6 separate regions of the Homo sapiens genome follow, and regions 1, 2, 3, 5 and 6 are each linked to region 4. The links are contacts of gene promoters, found by promoter capture Hi-C in blood cells and fetal thymus (Javierre and others, 2016). All regions are on one chromosome and are shown on one strand. The core of a region is centred on a gene start or on the middle of the fragment in contact, and the rest is flanking DNA. Distances in the headings are between cores, read along the strand shown. Region 1 has its middle 170 kb from the start of LINC00358. Region 2 overlaps LINC00358 (long intergenic non-protein coding RNA 358). Region 3 has its middle 140 kb from the start of LINC00358. Region 4 holds the start of PCDH9 (protocadherin 9). Region 5 has its middle 85 kb from the start of LINC00358. Region 6 has its middle 160 kb from the start of LINC00358.

Region 1 (3,539 bases), core at 798-3,297, 5.4 Mb after region 4:
TCCCATAACTCTTGATTCCAGGCCCTAGCTCCCGGATAGAATCTGTAGACCCACCCTGAGCTGAAAGGGAACCTGCTCCCATGAAGGGAAAGACCCAGTCTTGGCAGGATTCATCAATTGCTGACTAATGAGTCCTTGGGCTTTGAATAAACATTAGTGACAACCAGACAGCAGTTGCCATGGGCCTTGGGTGTGACCTCATGAATTCTCAGTTGTGATAGTCATGGGGAGAGACTCCTTTTGCTTGAGGAAAAGAGAGGAAAGAGTAAAAAGAACTTGGTCTTGAAATTTGGGTACAGCTCCGTCCCCACAAAACAAAACATGAAGTAGATTCATAAAGCCTCTGTTTCCAGGCACTAGTTCCTGGAGAGCATTTGTAGACCCATCCTTGGTCAGAAGGGAATCTTCTGCCATGCAGGGAAAGGTCCAGTACTGGCATCTACTCCAGTCTGTTTCCGTGATATCCATCCTCATGATAAATTGATGCAGCTTTTTTTTTTTTCATTGCTTTATAACGTTTAGGTCAGCTATTGCTTGGTCAGAAGGGAATCTTCTGCCATGTAGGGAAAGGCCCAGTACTGGCATCCTCTACTCCAGTCTGTTTCCGTGATATCCATGCTCATGATAAATTGATGCAGCTTTTTTTTTTCATTGCTTTATAACGTTTAGGTCAGCTATTGCCCTTGAATCTATTTTGAGTCTGTTCATAATAGAGTCAAAATAGAGTCAGGCCACAAGTCAAGGGCAAAACTTAGTCACTCAATTTTATATTAAGTGTATTTTTATTGTGAATGTGTTTTATTTATTTTCTCATTAAAAAGTAATTGTTAGTTCACTATCCCTAATACATGTAACAGAAAACATGAAAGTCCCCAGCGGTAGCTCAGAAAGATCAGTCATAGCTTTACTCATATGATTTTCAATTTTAAAACATGTTTTATTAAGTGAACATACAAATACAGTGTATAAAATTTTACCTATGAATATATATTTGAGTACTTACTGAGGCCAGACACTGCTGCATTTATGAATATTAACTCATTTATTTATCATAAACTCAAGAGGTGTATACTTGTGTTTTGTCCATAAATTACTCCCCATTCCGGACTAATTGCGTTTGCTTAACCATCATCATTTCCACCTTCTCTTTCTTCTCCCATTCCACTGTGGATCATTTAATTCTCCTGGGAAATAAAGCTGTCTAGGTCTTCCTCTCTTCTCTTTCTAAGTTGTTGTTACTGCTCAAATTCTGCATAGTATCTCTTTCAATGTCTTACTGCTCATTTTTCAAGTTTTCTCCCACCTCAATTGCTAGCATGACTCAAAAAATTCCAGCCCTTGCATATAAAAAATTTAGAATTTGAAAGTCTTTTTGCTCTTCAGCAGCAAGAAAATTTTGCTTTAGAAGCCAAAAACAACATAGACTGGTCTTCCCCTTTGGATTTCTGCTGTAAATTACCCCGATTATACTTGAGTAATAGGAATGACTTTAACGCTCATTCAGAAATAAAACACAAAAGAGTCAGGAAAAACATCACAAAGATTAGTATTTCAATATATCTTATTACATAGGTATTCCATGTACCAATAAAAATATAATGAAAATAGGTCGGGCGCTGTGGCTCACACCTGTAATCCCCACGCTTTGGGAGGCCAAGGCGAGCAGATCACCTGAGGTCAGGACTTCGAGACCAGCCTGACCAATATGATGAAACCCCATCTCTACTAAAAATACAAAAATTAGCCGGGCATGGTGGCATGCACCTGTAATCCCAGCTATTCGGGAGGCTGAGACAGAATTGCTTGAACCCGGGAGGCAGAGGTTGTGGTGAGCCGAGATGGCACCATTGCACTCCAGTCTGAGAAACAAGAGCAAAATTCCATCTCAAAAAAAAAAAATAAGAATAATAATAAATAATGACAATAGTTGTAAATATATTAGCCATGTGCCTATTATATTTACTAACATTATTTTATTTAAATTCTCCTGTAACTTCCTTTTCTTTTAGTTTTTTTAAATTTTAATACAATTTCTTCTTTGTGCTTTTTTATAACACCTATGTCAGCTATTACATTATGCTTGACCTTATAGCTTGACCCTGTTTTGACTTATATAAACTTTGACTTGAAAATTAAACCAAGCATTTCACATATGTCATTATACTAGAGTACTGTAATTTTTAAATTTTTGGAGGATTCACAATGAAGGGTACATCATAGTGTGGATTGCATTTACCAATCCTCTAATAAATTTGAATTTACTCATAGTTAAGTACTTTCCACAGCTCATAGCCAAAGAAAAGTTCATGGTTCTTAACCTTCTTCTGCTTTATGTATAACCTCGCTTCTCATCCGTTGCTTTTGTTTGTGATAATATATTATTCTTCCTTCTTCATATACTATTCAGAAGTCAATACTATTAACTGCATACCACATTCTAAAAACAGGAGTCACATTGAAGTACATTTATCCTAGAATAAAGAACAAAAGTGGAAGTTCCAGCAAAGTTTTTTTCTTGTTTCTTAAATTTGGGTTATAAGCAAATTATTAATTTTAAATAAGTGGTATAATTAAACCCGTCTGTCAAACAGAAGCATTATTATTTTGTGGGCTATGTTATAATAAAAGATGATAATAAAAATAATAATATAATAACACAAATATCAAGATACATTATTCTGCCTAGGGCTATTGTTCACCAATACTGTTCAGAGAAAAAGATATTTTCTTTTCTGCAACATACGTGTTTGTGTTGGCTCCCTTTACTACTTAAGGATCGTCTCTGAACAAACATAATTTATTGTTATAAGCATTCAGATGAGGATAAAAGAGAAACAATGTCATTTGTGGCAGCGTCTTGTTTTCATTTTTTTATTTTATTCTTTAAAAGCACTTAAGTTATATTTCCTATCTCACATCTCCATTATCCAAAAACCTGGACAGCTCTAGTGCTATAGCACATTGCTTCCTTTGGCATTTAAAGTAGCTTGTTTCCTCATATTTGCTTTGTTAGTGAGTTTACATTTTCCATGCCTCATCTGGGTCTTCATCTTGGGTTGAGCATATATCCTTTCAAAGAGATTTGTACTTGCTTCTGCCAGGTACCCTGGACTACTTAGTTTCTTAGTAGTAGTTTCTCTGGTTGAGATGCCCTGGAATTCACAGAGAATGTAAATTTGAAGGCCAAACTGGTATAATAAAGAGGGAGTCATTTATTGGCTCGCATTATGGGGGATTTTAAGAAGCTGACTTGCTTCAGGTAAGGAATTCTACGTCTCCATCAGTCTGCTTTGCTTCCTATAAATTGGTTTTATTCTTAATGAGGCTTTTACTGGGATACTGAAGATTTTTTGTTAGACTGGGCATAGCAATATCCTCTAAAGGAGTCATAATCCTTGAACAATGATTATCCAGGAGAATATGGTACCATGACTGAATTGTGTGGCATGTGTGTCATAAATGAAGGCAAGGCCATGGAATCGACAACCTCATGAGCTCCGTTGATAGAAAAAAAGCATGTATACATAGTGGATGCTGGC
Region 2 (3,245 bases), core at 396-2,895, 5.2 Mb after region 4:
TTAGACAATTTTTATGAACAAACAAGGAAAACTATTAAATTTTTGAATGGAGTATCACTGAATTTACCCATTAACACATGTAAAATTCCTGTCTTCATGAAGTTGGGTTTTCTAATTCATTGTGATATTGTTTCCATTTATTAATGGATTTTTATCTTTTAATGCTGCTTTATCATTTTCTTCCTAAAAGTTTTGCACATTTGCACAATTTATTTCCATAAACTCTATAATGTTTGTTATTAATAAGAATATTAATCTCAATATATTAAATTTCCAGATTGATTGCTTTTGATATAGATAAGAATTCGTTTGGTTAAGGATTAATATTATATACTTGTTTCATTATATTATTAATTCAATGACTATGTTCTTCATTCTATGATTTATGTTTTTATGCCCTCATTTCTTTCATTTCTGTGTGATTTTGCTCCATTATTTCTTGCTATTTACTTCTGTGGGTAATCTCAATATATTTTTACTTAAGTATCTTAAATTATTTTATGATATTACTCTTTAAAGTTATTTGTTAATTATCTAGTTGTTTATTTGTGATGGCTGCCTTGGGAGAGTTGAATAATTTTTCTAACATATCTAATTTAGAATTTTGGTGTGCAGTATCATTTTGAGTGGGATGGCTTATCTTTGGTTTTATAGTTGTCTCCCCTCAGTTCTCTGAGGCCTTCAGTCTAGAACTAAAGCTTGTATGATGAACTCAGATACCTTGCCCCAGAGTGATAGTGAAGATATCTTGGATTCTGCCAAAAAGCCAGTAGGATATGTCAGTTCTTGATTTGAGAACTATACGAACATACACAAACACAAATGAACACACACAGGTACATATTATTCCACATATTTTAGTCCTTTTGGACTGGTATAAGAAAATAAATGTGCTCTCTTGTTATGTTCTCACATGGCAGAAGGCAAAAGGGATGTCTTTTGGATCTCCTATAAGGATATTAATCCAGTTCTTGAGGGCCCTGACCTCATAATCTAATCATCCCTCCAAAGGCCCTATGTCCTCATTCTAATGTGGTAGAATTTGAACATACAAATTGGGAGGTGGGGACATAAACATTCATAATGTGTGTTTGTGTGTGTGCATGTGTGTGTGTGTGTGTGTGTGTGTGTAATCTGTGTTCAAATCTCTCACATCACTTCATTTAAATCTAAGTTATATCCCAAGGAGGCAATCAACAATGTAATATTTAGCCTTATATTAGGAGCAAGCAGATTACACCAGTCATTGTTTTCAAGCAACTAATCCTTTACGTGACTACCTTTCCTAATTCTGTAGTAATTAAAACATGATGTGGTTCTCTCTATTGGTCTCCAGGCATAGAGTTCAATAGGCTGGTGGCTTTAACTATTCGCAGTTTTTTATTTCTATTTTATTTATGCTTCTCAAATGTATTTACAAACTTTATTTTTTTTTTCTCTTTGGTATTTTCCTCTTACTGCCATATAATTTTGATGTAAAATTTTAATATAGTGTATAAACAGGAAACCAAATGGATTCCAATGTAAATCATACTTTATGCTGTTATTTATTTAATTCATCTATTTACTTAAAGTTGATCATCTTCCAGAAACATTTTAATGTGGCTTACAAAGCTGTATTAAATGCAACACAAACAAATAATCTAAAATTGATAGGCAAACAGAGGAAATAAAGAAGGGAAAAAAGAGAGAAAAGGAGTAAGAAAGAATAAGGGAGAGAAAGATAAAGTAGCAGAGAAAGAAAAGGGGAAACATTAAAATGAATAATTATCTATGAACTTGATATAACTCAAAATGATTAGTTAGAAAAAATAGGGTAAATTACACACCTCAAAAGGTCAATGAACTAAAACCAAACTGATAGTATCTTAGCCTATTGCTTTCTTTAGACAGTAAAAATAAAGCGTGACTCTAGTCCCAAATGCCATGCAGAGGTTTAAAAAGAATACTTTCAGATAGTAAGGGGCTCTGATTACGTATTTTATTCTATTCTTCCTTAATTTGGGGAATAATTTATTTTCAACTTCACAAAAATTGTGAAATCTTCATATTCCTTACTTGATGTTTCACAGGACAGCCTACGTTGTCCAGTGGAGGCAGCCTTCCCATTCCAACGGACATTTGTGGGATATTAGAGACCAAGAAGTGTTAAGAGATGATCTTCACAAAATGCTGAGCTTGTGTGGGTGTCGAACTACAAACAGGAGGAGATGGATATTCACATGCAGTGGTGGAGGGTTATGGCTCTCCAGCCTGGAGGATTGGAGCTTGAGCCAGGTGAACAGTGGGTCCATTAAAGGGGCAGCTCAGTTCAGCAAGTCAGAGCCTGAACAGGATGAAAGGGGCAACCCACAAAGATGAGGACTGAATTGGAGTTACAGATCCCAGTTGGTTGGAGAGACCATTTTCCTGGAGGATGACCCAGTTTGGGAGTCACAGCCAGAGCTGGGATAAAAGATAATCCACACTCTTTTGGATATAATATGTATTATAATTTCTTTTTTCTCTCAAGTAGTTTAAAAGTTTTACACTGTTTTCATTAGTCACTAATAGAAACATATACAATAGTTTTCTGCATTCCATCAAGCTTAATATTAACAGATATGTTTACCCATCTCCTGAACATTACAAATATCTTAGAATATTAACCTCTCTTAGGATTAGTTCTATTCAAATGCATGGATTACTTTGCTGTGTAATTCCAAGACTCCATGATATTGATAATACTCTATAATAAAGTTAAATTTTCTCAGATTTATCCACATATTTACCACTTTCTTTGATCTTTAGACTAAAGCAATTTTAAATACCAGGCTTACTTTTCTTTATTCTAAGCTGGAAATGCATTTTTTTTGTAGATTTTCAGTAATCCCTTGTTATATCATTAACTCTTTGATCCGTTTTAACATGCAGTTTTCATCCATCCTTTTTTTGTTGTTATCTTTGAGAGAATTGATCATAGTGACTAAGCTGCAATACTAAATTAGAGGAGTTTTAAATCTTAATATAACTTTGGCATAGTAAAATAATTTAAACAATAAAATGAGTTCATATTGTATGCTTGCATCTTAGCCTTTGACATTACTCCTGTTTTAATGATGAAACTTTACCTTGAAATGTCGCTAGTTTTTATTTCTTTGTGTGTGTGTTTGTTTTATTGATCTTGCCAGTAAACATCATTAAACATACTATTTCAAACATTAAAATGTCTGCTGAAAGGCATCTGACAATTTAAAAGTCAGTGA
Region 3 (3,487 bases), core at 413-2,912, 5.3 Mb after region 4:
TTTTAAATGACGCTTTTTTGAGCTGGGGAGACATAAAATGTTGGCAAGCCTTTGTCCTAGTAATCAATTTTTCTATAATGAAGTGCTCAAAATATTTGTAGCTTAAAAAGCAATCACTTCACTACTTGTCAGAATTTTGTGGGTTAGAAGTTCAGGCAGAGATTAGGCACTTATTGTGTTTCTTGTGACATTGATGGATGTCACCAATGTTCTTCTACTGGCAGAAGAGATGTTCTTTAGAGTTCAATACAGCTTCACACAGATGTCTTTAGCCTTGATGAGGTTGGCTGGAAGGATTAGCTCTGCTGAAACTCTGCTGAAATAGTGTCTAAACTGACCCTCCATGAGGGTGATCTCAGAGAAATCAAGCTTCTCACAATCTAGGTCTTGACTCCCAGAGGGAAGGTTTCAAGAGGCTCATGCACTAGCAAGACGCGATCTTATGACCTAGCATTGAAATTACCACAACATTATCTACCATATTATAATAACCAAGAATGTCATCAAATCTAGCTAAGATTCAAAAGGAGAGAAATTAGGGTCCACCTCTCAACAGAAAGAGCAGCAAAAAATTTGCTATCTTTTCTAATCTGCCTACTGGAAAAAAATTTACATATATAACTATAATAAATAAAATACATTATATATAATGATCACTTATACATTATAAATTATTACAGTATACTACACATTATACTATAATTATTACAATTATACATTATAAATTATTATAATATACTATATATTACAATATAATTATATTGTAATATTTTATAACACATAAATGATCATAGTATGTGTAATATGTAATTATATATTACACTATAATTATAATTTATAATATAAAATTTAATAATTTAAATTTCTTCCACTTTAAAAGATACTATCATCCTTTCTTAAGTACCTTAAAAGTCATATCTAATTATGGAACCAGATGCAATACCAGGATCTCAAAACTTTTAAACAGATTCAGGTTTTCTCACTGTTTTCCTCTCAACTTGAAGTCGTGTGAACAAGGAAGTAGTTATCTTCCCCCATATACTCAATATAAAAAGATGTGACAGAGACAGAGTGAATGCAATAAATCCTCCTGTTCAAAAAAGAAAGACATAGGAAGCAATAGTAAGTGATCTACCACATTTCTGAAATCTAGCAAGAATCATGTTTCTAGAGCCTTGAATGGAAAGAATTGCAGGCTCAGGGCTGCTTCCTGGGAATGCTCCTTTACATCTCCTGCCCCTGCCCTCCGAGATCTCAGTTTCTCCGGAGTCCCACTTTTACATAACAAATCACTCATGTTTACAGCTGCATGGTATTTTCAGCCTATGACTTGCCTGTAGAATAAGGACTCTTCTTATTTTGAATTGTCTCTGTGCTTCTGCCAGGAAAAGTGTTTTATAAAAATATTAATTTTTCTGTGACTCTTATCTGGGTTTGGTTCATTAAATAAATGCCGAACCACAAAACTCCGAATTTAGTCCTTATTTGCCTTGGGCTAAGAATCATGAGGTTGTTGGCGGTGTGCTTAAGAGTTTTAGGAAACTTGTTATCTAGTCAAGAATATCTATGGGACACACACTTCAACCTTTCTGAATTCTTAGTTTTAAAGCCTCAAAGTTAAGATAATTTTGCCCCGAAGTTATTTCTCCCTTTAAGAACATTTTTTGGGGCATGTCAAAACAGGCTGTGAAAAAGAAATTATTTTATTTTCAAATCCTTCAATTCTTGATTCCATGATATTTCTTTTCATTGTGCTTGAAAACTAAACAGTTGCTGTCATGGCTCATTTCTTTGTCCTGGCTATTTCATTATTTCTGGCTGAAAGAAAATGGCCAGCACTTCCGACATTTTGACTGAAAATTTCCTCAAGAAAATAAATGAGGTTCATTTTTATATTTGCTACACTACCTTAAGTGACAGTGCTGACCCTACAAAATAAAGATTGTTGACAGAGTGCCTAGCTGTGGCCTCTTTAGCATGGCCTTCTTGGGATAGTTGACTTTCTTAGAGTTGAACTCAGGGCCCTCAGGGTAAGTATTCCTATTGGTTTGCTTGGAATTTCCACAGCTTCTTTTTAATTGGAATTTCCACAGCTTCTTTTAACTAACCTGAAAAGTCCCAGAATTCTAACTTTCACTACATTAAATTTTTCGAATACGTAATTAAGTCGTGCCTATATTCAATGGGAAGGAATTTAGAGTTCACCTAGTAGATGGGAAAAGTACCAAAGAAGTGCAAGTAAGCCTCTGGCTAAGAGCAGGTCTTCCTCCAGGGATCCAGAAACCACACCCAGCACCTCAGAAGCTCGGCCCAGTTCAGTACCAGGATTCAACAATGTACGTATTTGAATAATTCTGAAATATATTTTTATTTGAGTCATCCACAGAGATTTCCAACCAAGTGATTTTTGTGAGAAATAGGTACCAACTTATATTTCACACAGGTTAAAATGTATTACCCCTATACAGAATTAAATATTAAATATGGACTACTTTGGTGAGTACAACTCTAACAATTTTAGCTTAGAAGAAAGTGCATCCCTTATTACTTTGTTTCATATAAATGTTATTTAAAATTAAATTAATTTTTTGCTCCTAATAAAATACTCATACATGGTGAATATTCTTTGTCTTAAGTGCTTGGGACCAGAAGTATTTTTGAGTTTTTTGGATTTGGGAATATTTGCATATGCATAAAGTGATGTCTTGGGGATGGGATCCAAGTCTGAACACAAAAATTCATTTATGTCTTATATACACATAGTCTGAAGGTAGTGTCATACAGTATTTCAAATAATTTTGTGCATGAAACCCAGCACATGAGTACAAGTTTTGACTGAAACCCAGCACATAAAGTGTGGTTTTTCTACTGTGGCATCATGTTGGTGCACAAAAAAATTCTGATTTGGGAGCATATCAGTGTTTAGATTTTTGAATAAGCAATGCTCAAGCTTTATATACCCAGGTGCTGTCTTAAGGTTTCAAATATTTACCCATGTAGTCTTCACATATGGGTTGGTACAATTAGTGTATACATCATACAATTCATGAAAATGAGGAACAAAATAGTGTATCGCAAATATTTCATAGTTGTGCAAAGATTGATGAGTTGTAAGGACAGTATTTTTGTAGAAAGCAATATTCTAACAAAATATACTTTTCACTTACACTATGTAACATATGTTTATGGGTATTGGAATTTAATGTAATTTTTACTTAAAATTTTCCTAGCGATATTAAATAAGAACAAATATAAAAGCATAAGCCCTCCTATTTTTCTTTCAGATCTAATTCAGTTCCATTAAAACTGCTATTTAGTCTTGTAGTAAGGCAAGATTTCTAAGGTTTATTTAAATTTAGAAGAGCTTATAAGATAATTTAAGATATACATGATATTGAGAGTCATGGTAAAATGTATAATGCTTTGAATAGCTAATAGTTTTCTTGCAGAAATGGCGTGTGCTGCAGTTTGTTGAGAAAGACAATTT
Region 4 (3,198 bases), core at 547-3,046:
GAACTGTGAATATTAACTCAGAAAAGTTTGAATTAAAAAGAGCTTACAATTTCATGTTGGAAAATTGTGATGTCAAATTAGTTGGTTAAATCATGTCATTATTTATTCAATATATGGCTTAGTAAGCTTGATTGGTGTTTTTTTTTTTTTTTACTTTTCATTTAAACGTCTAAAAACAAATGTTACTTAAAAAAGAAAAAAAGCAAACAAAACTATTGTACTCAAAAACAAGGGGTAATCTCCAACACGCCCTCAGTCAAGAGCTTAAGTATGTCAAGAGCCTTTAATGCCTAGGCAGCCCATTATAGAATGGGGAACACACAGGTTTAAAATAAATGCCCTTTATTCTTCCTGTAAGTTAGACCAAGTTATTCAATCATGTACTAAGACCTTCTCTGACAACCTTTATAGGTCATTCAGAAAATAAATTTTTGTTCCAAGTGAACTGTTCCTATGTTAATGCTTCAAACTTTACTCAGGTATCAGGCGTTAAGTACAAGCCATTACACAAACCTTTGTGGTTTACTGACTTTGAAAGATCAATCAAATATATTACTAGATAGTGCTTTGGGGGTCAGTATTTGAGAAATAAAGCTGTATTTTTTGGGGAGTCATTCCATCCAGTTCCCGTATGAAAACGAGAAACTTGTGAGGATTTAGTACAGAGCTGGAGTCGGAGAAATGAAATGCACGGGAAAAGACGAAAATCACAGGAAAGAAAGTTGGAATCAGCAGAAAGTGCCTAGGGGAAAGGAAGTGTTCCACAGCTTGGGAAACAGCTGCCTGGGACTCCTTCCAGCCCCTCGGAAGCAAAGTTCGCAGTGAGGTGGGCTGGAAGCGGGTTTTGCAGCAGCCGCGAGTCCGGGCTCAGGTTTCCAGGCGCGGCTGGAGCAGAAGTGCAGGGACCGCCACGATCCACCGCCGCGGCCGGTCCCGCTCCGCTAGAGGAGACTTCGCACGCGCAGCCGACTGGCCCGGGCTGACCGAGGGGACCCAGACGCTGCCACTTTCTCTTTCCAAGGCAGTTTCCGTGGCTCTGCATGTAGGAAGTGCTCCGATTAATTTTCTTTCCGGTCTCCGCAGAGATTCCAAATTCTGCGGTCCCCACCTTTCGCTGTACTCCCTCTCCGCCCTTCTTTCCAATGTCCCTGCCAGCAAAAGCCTCTATTTGCAGCACCGGGCATGTTGTCCGTTTAACGCGCTCCGGGGATCTGCTGGCTCGTGCTCCCAACCCAGGGGTGGCTATACGTCTCGCGCCTCTGTTCCTGGGTAGACTCCCCCATCTGTGCATTTTGGCCCCTTCACTTAGCAAAGAGATGTGCGAAGTGTGCGCCTGGAGACGAGCCGCCTCGGTGACCCCCATCCGCCCGCAGCGGTGGCCCTGGTTCCCCGGATCCGCGCCCGCGCCCTGCGGGTCTCCCGCGCCGCCCTTGCCCGCCGGACCACCCGGGCTCAGAGGGTCGCTCGCTTTCAGCGCCTGCGAGCGCCGCTTCCGCCCGGGCCTGGGGAGCGCCAGCGCGTCCCTCCCACGCCGGACCCTGCAGAGCATGCTCAGTGCACCTCATGGAACCCGGCTCTCCTGGGGCCAGGATCAGATTTCCGGGTTTTCGCTGCTGCCGAGGGGGCGCGGAGGAGGGGAGGCTGGGAGACAGTCAGCGCCTTGTTCCGCGCTCCCTCCCTCGCGCCGGGCTGCGGCCGCCCGCGCCGCAAGATGCAGGCCAATCAGAGCCCGGGGGCGGGGCCTGGGCAGTCACGCCCTCCCTCTGGGCTTATTGAGAGTTATATCAAGAAATTCAGTTCAGAGAGAGGAGAGGGAGAAGGAGAGAGGGGCAGAGGGGAAGGGAGAGAGGGAGAGCACGCGAGACGGAAAGGAGCGCCTCAGAGTCTCTGAAGCACGCAAGAGATAACCGATTAGGAATTTTTCGGGCAACTGTCACCCGGATAGCTGTCAGAGAATCATCATCACCGCAACTCTGACGTTTCCTACAAGAAGTTAGAGACTTAAGCAGTATTGGCATCGGATGGAAATGGTATGCATGCTGCTGTGGAAAATATCCCTGAGCTGAAGAAGTGCAACTATGTGTTGTGTGTGCTAAATGCCCAGAAGAACCCAGACCCAGTGGGTAAGAGAGACGAAATGTGGAGAGAATGACTAACGACAAATCCGTGAATTTGTTCTCTGGAGTTGCTAATTTGCCAGCCCGAAGCAACACATTTTACAAGGAGGAAACATTTTGCTGCTTCTGATTTCTCCCCAAACTGGTGCTACCAGATGCATGGCTTTCTATGTGTTGGAACAAATCATTCCTAACTGCAGCATACTGGGAAAGGGGAAAGGTTGAGGCAACTAACGTAAGTGTAAAGTTTCGCATGCACAATTGTAAATTCTGTGTTTAGATGTGTCCTCAGTGTAGGCGAAAGATGCTTGTAATTGGGTAGACGGTTGGGGCAGAGCTCACCTACTCGGCTGTATCTGCATCCCTACCTGCATCACTCTGCCGGAACTAATCGCGGGCATCAGCTACTGTGCAGCCTAATGCAGATAAGATTAGAGCCTGAGAACTGACCAGTCCTACTCAAGTAGGTAGCTGCCTGGAGCCTTGCACCCATTTAAACTGCAGTTATCTAAGCAGAAGCCTTTTTACCTGCATGATTGGGTTGCAGTATTTATGTGTGGCAAATGTTACTAATATTCTAACCAGAGATCAGGATTAAGAAATTGCATTTTTTTTCTCTTTTATGTTCAGTAGAAAATATTGTGATGTTACATGGGAATGTTAGCTGCGTTTCACTTATATCTCGGCACTCTCTTCCACCTCTAGGAAAATGAATCCTATATTATTATACATTTTTAAAAGTTTTAATGTGTTTATGAATCCTAATGAGGATAATTTGTCAATATGGAGAAAGGAGAGCAAGCTGTGGGCAAGAAATCTGAAGTCTTGTTGTTGTGCTTTTAGGCAATGAGGATGTGTAGAGGCCGGTGACTATTGCTTCTGATGCCGCTGCAGCGGCATGTCCGGATGCTCGTTTCCCAGTAAGATTGTATTAGAAGGCAGTTGAAGAACTGGGAGGAAAGAAAAAGATAGCCTTTTTAGAAAAGATAGGTGACTCAGTGGGGCAGAGAAGAAAACACATTTGACATGTGACAAAGCAATTAGCAGGAACCGTAGCTAAATACTTAGTGTTTTTCACTTG
Region 5 (3,577 bases), core at 667-3,166, 5.1 Mb after region 4:
AGCATATAGTTAGGTAACCTTGCATGGGGTAAGGGGGAACATGGTGGGAAAGAGAAGGGAGGGGAATTTCATAGTAGGTTTCAAGGCTATATTTTAAGATGAAGAAAAACAAGTTTTCTACCTTTTGCTTTGAGGTTACATCTTGAGACTGGGAAGGAAGGAGGAAAAAAAACGTTTAAAATGCATTTTGAAGCTAACCTACTCAATTACAATACTAGATATTGGATGAGAAAAGACTGTACTCCAAAACTGTGTCTTAGTGTACAGGGAGGACACATTCAAGAAACTAACCTAGAAATGATTAACCTATTGAAACGGGAAAAGTTCCCTTGTCCACCTCACAAGGCATGTGATGTGGTGTGGCTCACTTCTTCAGTGCCCTGCTGTTCAAACCTGTATGGGAACATACAGATGGGCAGGCTGTGGGGCTCCGACCCCATGGCAGTGTCTAAGGGGTGAATGTTTACAGCTCCTGAAGCCCCACTGGGCGTGTGTTACAGGATGCTCTTTTAGTTTTGCGCGTTTAGTTTTGCCATCTATAGGCGGCTTATGTTAACCAGCTCAATTAGACCCTCTACCTTGTCACAAGGACAGAGGGCTTTCTGTATCCCGGGTCCTTGCCTTGATGTACCTGGAGAATCAGATCACACCTGGGCTTGGAGAATGAGTGCAAGGTTTTATTGAGTGGAGGCAGCTCTCAGCAGATGGGGGAAACCAAAAGCAGGATGGAGTGGGAAGGATTTCCCCTGGAGTTGGGCTGTTCAGCGGCCTAGGCTGTCCTCTGACTGCCCCAGCAAAACTCTGTGTTGTTCTGCTGCTTGATGGCCTGCCTGCCAGCATCTGTTGGTGTGCTCTTCCGCCTCCACGTCCAGCTTCTGGTGTCTTCTTCCTTCAATCCACTCATCTCGAAGTCCAGCTGCTTGTGTGTCTGCCTACTAGGGCCTCGGGGGTTTTTATAGGCACAGGATGGGGGCACCGCAGGCCAGGGTGGTCTTGGGAAATGCAACAAAAATGCTTGTCCTCACCTAGGTCTGTTGGGGTGGAGCCCTAGGCAAGGACCACTTTCTCCTCTACCCAGCACTTCCCTTCCCCACTTCCGGATCATTTGAAGGGACCACACTCTTCTCTCCTCAGCTCTCCCATATCAGTAAGATGAAATTCTCAAAAAGCTTCCACAGCCACAGGAGTCCCTACACCTGGCTGAAATATGTCTTTGATTGTTTATTCACCTTGAGAGATCCCCAGACACATCCCTTGGGAGTCTGAAAATTGATTGCCAATGACTGCTGCAGTTGCCCTCGCATTGAAGGTGAAGAGTGAAAAGATATTATGGTAATGAGTTAGAATTTTCTGTAGTGTTATAGAAACTTCCCTCTCCATCTACTAATGGTGTAATCTAAACATTTTATATTAACGAATGTACATGGATTTCACTGTCTACACTAGGAACTGAAAAGATGAAATGTCTTCAGAGACCATGCTTTCCCCTTTCCCTGTGTTTCCTTTTCCTCACACATTAAAACAGTGTTGTTGACTGGGCGCGGTGGCTCACACCTGTAATCACAGCACTTTGGGAGGCCAAAGTGGGCGGATTACTTGAAGTCAGGAGTTTGAGACCAGCCTGGCCAACATGGTGAAACTCCATCTCTACAAAAATACAAAGATTAGCTGGGCATGGTGGCTGGTGCCTGTAATCCCAGTTACTCGAGAGGCTGAGTCAGGAGAATCACTTGGACCCGGGAGGTGGAAATTGCAGTGAGTGGAGACTGCGGCATTGCACTCCAGTCTGGGCGACAGAGCAAGACTCTGTTTCAAAACGACAACAACAACAACAACAACAGTATTGTTGTATTTCTAGGCATATCTCAGAGAATACCTGGAGGCTCCTTGGGAAAGAAACCCGAAGGTACACTAAGTTATTTTTAAAAATTTATTCATTGCTTTTGTGTTTTATAAAGTATGAAACAACAAAATTAGAATGAGAAGGATTCACTTTATCTTCCTAAAATGTTGCCTTTTGAAGTTGAGGCTCTTGACTTCACATAACAAGGATGAGTTATCTCTTTTATTAGAATAGCTCATCTTCTTGTCTGCTCAGATATATTTGCACTTGACATGATTTTTTTTGTAACCATTTTCATATGGAGTCAGCTGTTTTCATTGTGATCTAAACAGAAATTTAAAGAAGAAATTTTCAGAGAGGTGTGTCAATGTGTGGTTGTCTAATACCTGCAGAGAAAACTTTATGTTCTTACTATCGACTTTGACATGGTAATGTGGAAAACTGCAAGACCTAAACTTTCAAAACTACCTATTTTCATATGGAAGTGCTCACCACTAAAAAACTTCAATATAGGTAATCTAATATATCTAAATTAAACCTTACAGTTATACATATCACATAAACTCAGATTTTTTTGTGGTGGGGACAATAGGCCATAGTACTTTAACCTTTAGATGATTTTTGCACTGAATTTATCTTCTTAGAGGTATGAATGTTCTTTCTCTATAGTGGCTTTGTGTAGGCATCACTGTAAACTGGATATGGTGCAAGTTTATTAGAGTCTTTGCCTAGATATTCAGACTTGTAATGTTGGCTGGAGGACAAGAATTGCATACTCCTATGTTGGGAAAACAGTCATCATCAAACTAGGAAAGCTTAACATTTTCATCTTTAGTGAACTCTGATATGTTAGTCTTAGATATGATTAGTGCACAAGCTAGTTCTATCTCTGCCCATGTTTGAATATTACACACACGTACACACACATACACACACACACGAGCTATTCAAGTAAAGGAGATGAGTCATCCTTATGAAGTCAAGAGCTTCAACTTCAAAATGTGTGTGTATGTGTGTGTGTGAGACACACACACACAGAGAGAGAGAGAGAACTGGGCAAACCTGATATGTTGATGTTAGATGTGAGAAGTGCATATCTGACTCTGGATGTATAGTTCACACGCATGCATATTGGGTAGCACATTTAAATAAGGTGTGAAATACTTTCCTGGATGCAGACAGCTCTTGTGTGTTGATAATGATAAAGTATTGTGGCCAGATGGTGCTTTAGAGAGATAATTCATACATACAAACACTCTAGAGAGTGGATTCAGATTTACCTTGACTGTCTGTGCTTGAATAGGCAAGAAGGTTACAAAGTAACTTAGGTTATATGCAGTGGAGTTCTTGTTTAGCACAGAACAGCATTTCAGAGGGTTTTCTGTGGAATTCTATATCTACAGGATGTAAAGAGAGAGGTTACTTTAAAAACTGTTCTCTGGTAAAGCATACTTGTAAAAAGTAGGATAAACAAAGCTGAACACTTATTCACTGAAAGATTGTTCAGAACCCTTGTTTTGTGGGTTGTGATTTTCCATGGATGGAATATAGTAGGCTCCATTTCCCAAACTTATTTAGTCCTGACCCTCTTTTTGCATAGAAATCTTTAAGAGCTAAAAAAAAAATGGGCATATGACAGAGAAAATACCAAAAAGGATTTCTCTTAGTGATTTTTTTTAAATTAATGCAGTATTGCAGTATGTTTACTGTCAAGATTTTTTGGGTGTGTTGGAG
Region 6 (3,649 bases), core at 597-3,096, 5.4 Mb after region 4:
GAAAACAGGCACTGAGAGTCTGCTATCTGTATGTAGAGTTTTTGTGGGGGGCGTTCTCTTAGAAATAACACCTATGAGGAAATGGAAAGAGGGAGCAGTTAGACTGTGATTCAGTTGAGGCATGAAATTAAAGAAAGAAAGAGAAATAAAATTACAAAGAGAAATAAGCTTTCTTGTGTTAGGCTGACTTGTCCCAGAGGCAGCAACAGGCACAGCCCAGACCCTGGAAAATTCTTGATAATACTATCTAAGAAGCCAGGACACAAAGGAATGTGCTCTGGAGACTCTCCCAGCATTCCCTCAACATAGCGAGGAGAAAAACAAATTTTCCTTTCTCTTATGGTATGAGTTTATAGATTCCTGCTCTCTGTAACTAGTGACTTCAAGTATTCTGTTTAACCTAAGCAGTGGAGTGAAGGTCATAAACCATCTGTGCAGGCCTGAGATAAGGCCACCTGGGCACCATAGTGAAAGTTATGGGATAAGCCTGTGCCTAGGCATAACCTAGATAACAGCCATCTGGGTTGCCTGGCAATGGTCATATGTAATTCCGAGTTATGCACCTGTCACAATTTGATTCACTGCCTTTGTTCTGCCTCTGTATCCTTGCTTTCACTTCATGCCACTGTAAGCCTGACTCAAGCTAGCCCACCCCCTTTTTAAAGTGTGTATAAATGTCAAGTGCTGTCTTTGTTCTGGGCCCAGTTTTTTGGATGTTATGTCCACTGGGTCTGAGTGCACTCAATAAAGATCCTCCTACTTTACCATGAGGTTTCTCTTGTCCTCCCGATTCCTGCAACACAGTGGCAACAGAGACCTTAGGCAATCTCACAAGGAAATTTGGAACTGGAATGGATTCACAAAGTTATCTCAGTTGAGGTGATGGGACCATCTTTTTCTTTCCTTAAGTAACATTGATCAGATATTTGTTACAGGCTGCCCTCAGGCAGAGGGCATAAACTTGAGAATGGCAATTGCCTTTAGGCTAGAACAACCCCTGAAGAGGGATTTACTTGTAGAGTTGTCAGAAGCCAATATACCCAATACATAGTAGAAATATTTTCTTCATTCTGAACAGGAAGCAGTTGGGGAATTTAGACCCAAATTTTCCTTCGAGGAAGAAATTGTTGTTGCAGTTACTTAGAATGCTTTTAGAAGAAAGCAGACAATCTAAGTTTTCAGTATCAGGAGGGATTAACTTAGGTTCAGGAAGTTTTATCACCTCAACTCATACCATTCCAGAGATACCCATAGCCAATAATTGAATGTGGTTGTGTTAGAGAGTCAGTATTTCTAGTAGAATATGGGAAATCTCAGATGGGTCATTTCAGCTCCAACTGTGCCTGTACAGTGGCGGAGACTGTCAGGATTGCGTTCCAACTCCACTTCTTCCAGTACCCAGTCTGACTTCTTTCTTCCTTCTGCTCCCTGAGAAACATTCTGCACTCTAAACTCTGAATCAGAAACCCTTTCCTACAAAGATCATAAATGGGTGCCAGGAGTTGTCTAAGAGTACAGGCAATGAGACAAAGCTTTGGAATGGAATCACTCACCATCTGGCTGGAAACAAAGACCCACTCACTGGTGTCAGTGAAACACATACAGTCCCTGAGATGAGGTAGCAGTACTATTGTTGAAATATTCACAGGTGTTGAATTAGAATATTTTATTATACTGACAGAAAGGGATGTGCTATCTGGTGCAATGTGTCAAGTATTTAAAAATTACAGATTAAAGATAAACTATGCAAAGTGAAAAGATTATGGGAGGACTGCCATTACCCTCACATCCTATTGTTCACATCCTTGTGTTATCCCTTCCCTTTCAGTGTAGATGGGACCTGTCACTTGCTTCTAAATATAGAATATGGCAAAGGTGAGAATATGCACATGATTACATGTATGTAATCATGTGATCTGTTTCATAAGATTGTAGCTGTCAAATTGCTACAGTCTCTCACTTTCATGATGTGAGGAAGCAAGTGGCTATGTTAGTAAACCTCATACAGCAAGGCCTGCAGGTGAGCCCTGGGAGCTGAAGGCATCCTTCTTCCAAGAGACAGTAAACATATTTGAAGCTCTCAGTACTACATCTGTAAGGAACTGAATGCTACTAACAACCATGCAAACAGGGAAATAGATCCTGTTCCAGTCAAGCTTCCAGCTGAGATTGCAGTGGAGCTTATATCTTGATTGCTAGCCTTGGAATACCCTAAAAAGGGAAACAAGCTAAGCCACGGCTGGATTCTTGACCCACAGAGGCTGTAAGAAAAAAAAATGTTGTTTTAAACTATATGCTAAGTCTGAGATAATATTGTCACACAGCAAAAGAAAGTTAATGCAGACAAAGGAATCACAGCTTTATTGCAAATCTAGATTAGATTGACACATTAGGGAAAGATAATACAAATCTAAGAGAGATGAGCTGTTAATTGAAAGCCTACCATGAAAACCAGGTTTTCTCATTGGTAACATACAGAGAGCCTGTTATGTCTTTCAAGAGGAGGGCAGAGAAAGTTGAGTATGAAATCAAATACTGATCAGAAAAGTTAGGCTCCAAGGAAGGTTTATGTCATAACCAAAGCAGATTACTATGCCAATAACAGAGTTTTGAATTGGAACAAATGGGACCCTGACACATGAATGGAAAAATCTGGGTTTATGACTCTAAATTCTTAAATTTTTATATTTTAATAAAAACTCTGAATCTGCCAAAGAAGACTATCACTCTCTATTAAGAGCTAGAATTGGCCAAGCACGGGGGCACACACCTGTAATCCCAGCACTTACGAAGGCCAAGGCGGGCAGATTGCTTGAGCTCAGGAGTTCAAGATGAGCCTGGGTAACATGGTGAAACCCTGTCTCTAAAAAAAGAATAGAAAAATTAGCAGGGCGTGGTGACCCATGCCTGTAGTCCCAGCTGCCCAAGAGCTGGAGGTGGATTGCCTGAGCCCAGGAGTTTCAGGCTGCAGTGAGCTGTGATTGTTCCACTGCACTCATGCCTGGGTGACAGAGTGAGAACCTGTCTCAATTAAGGAAAAAAATAAAAGAACTTTAATTATCACTTTACTTGAATGTGTGAGTAAATTATTTGGAGCACTGTCCCATGATTGATGAATTAACACCTAGCAATAATCTTAGGGAATAATCCAAACTTGCTGTCAGGATGACTCCATGAAACATAGAAAAAATATTGATCTCCACACTATGGAGTGTCAAAGTGTCAGAAATTATCTGGAAGCAGATAATGATTGGAGTAAAGGACACAAGAAAGTGGGAGAACCAGAATGGATATCATAACTAAGACACAAAAACCCACCAGATGATTATGTTCCAAGTAAGGTCCAGAGCATACACCATGTTAGAAAGCCAAAAAGGAGGTCTGGTGAGAGAAACACCAGCATCACTGAGAAGTTCAGGAGTGGTTCTGCTGTGCTAAAATTTAACACAATGGACAAGTGCAAAATTAAAGTAAATATAGGTGTCACAACAGTGTCCTGCCATTTCTCTAGAATTTGGTCCCTCAAATCCTAGCTGAACTTATTGTCCTGCAATGACTTTAAAATTTTGTTTGTTGCTGTCATTTGACCTTGTTCAGCATTTATGCTTTTCAGTGAGAAGTTTAGTATGATACAAAGCTACTGTATCAT

What was found. The method cuts DNA at HindIII sites, captures the fragments that hold promoters and counts their contacts. A CHiCAGO score of 5 or more calls a contact.
Region 1: a fragment that was not itself captured here is called in contact with the fragment with the promoter of PCDH9 in region 4 in 1 of 17 cell types (total CD4 T cells); the score reaches 7.0 in total CD4 T cells.
Region 2: a fragment that was not itself captured here is called in contact with the fragment with the promoter of PCDH9 in region 4 in 1 of 17 cell types (total CD4 T cells); the score reaches 5.1 in total CD4 T cells.
Region 3: a fragment that was not itself captured here is called in contact with the fragment with the promoter of PCDH9 in region 4 in 1 of 17 cell types (M2 macrophages); the score reaches 5.9 in M2 macrophages.
Region 5: a contact is called between a fragment that was not itself captured here and the fragment with the promoter of PCDH9 in region 4, in 2 of 17 cell types (M2 macrophages and M0 macrophages). The highest score is 11.6, in M2 macrophages.
Region 6: a contact is called between a fragment that was not itself captured here and the fragment with the promoter of PCDH9 in region 4, in 3 of 17 cell types (monocytes, naive CD4 T cells and non-activated CD4 T cells). The highest score is 7.4, in monocytes.

What each region holds. Positions count from the first base shown.
Region 1 is chr13:61,854,018-61,857,556 of GRCh38, reverse strand. No RefSeq gene overlaps it. Among named protein-coding and RNA genes, the nearest start is that of LINC00358, 170 kb to the left of the region's middle. The HindIII fragment of the contact is 9,273 bases long and covers 1-3,539 here.
Region 2 is chr13:62,003,338-62,006,582 of GRCh38, reverse strand. LINC00358 (long intergenic non-protein coding RNA 358) reads left to right here. Exons shown (of 2, transcript NR_046995.1): 2 at 2,073-3,058. Among named protein-coding and RNA genes, the nearest start is that of LINC00358, 25 kb to the left of the region's middle. The HindIII fragment of the contact is 1,889 bases long and covers 701-2,589 here.
Region 3 is chr13:61,888,325-61,891,811 of GRCh38, reverse strand. No RefSeq gene overlaps it. Among named protein-coding and RNA genes, the nearest start is that of LINC00358, 140 kb to the left of the region's middle. The HindIII fragment of the contact is 2,581 bases long and covers 372-2,952 here.
Region 4 is chr13:67,228,934-67,232,131 of GRCh38, reverse strand. It overlaps PCDH9 (protocadherin 9), which reads left to right and starts at 1,796. Exons shown (of 5, transcript NM_203487.3): 1 at 1,796-2,352. RefSeq lists a silencer at 1,386-1,525. The HindIII fragment of the contact is 4,939 bases long and covers 129-3,198 here.
Region 5 is chr13:62,112,759-62,116,335 of GRCh38, reverse strand. No RefSeq gene overlaps it. Among named protein-coding and RNA genes, the nearest start is that of LINC00358, 85 kb to the right of the region's middle. The HindIII fragment of the contact is 1,489 bases long and covers 1,172-2,660 here.
Region 6 is chr13:61,872,258-61,875,906 of GRCh38, reverse strand. No RefSeq gene overlaps it. Among named protein-coding and RNA genes, the nearest start is that of LINC00358, 160 kb to the left of the region's middle. The HindIII fragment of the contact is 624 bases long and covers 1,535-2,158 here.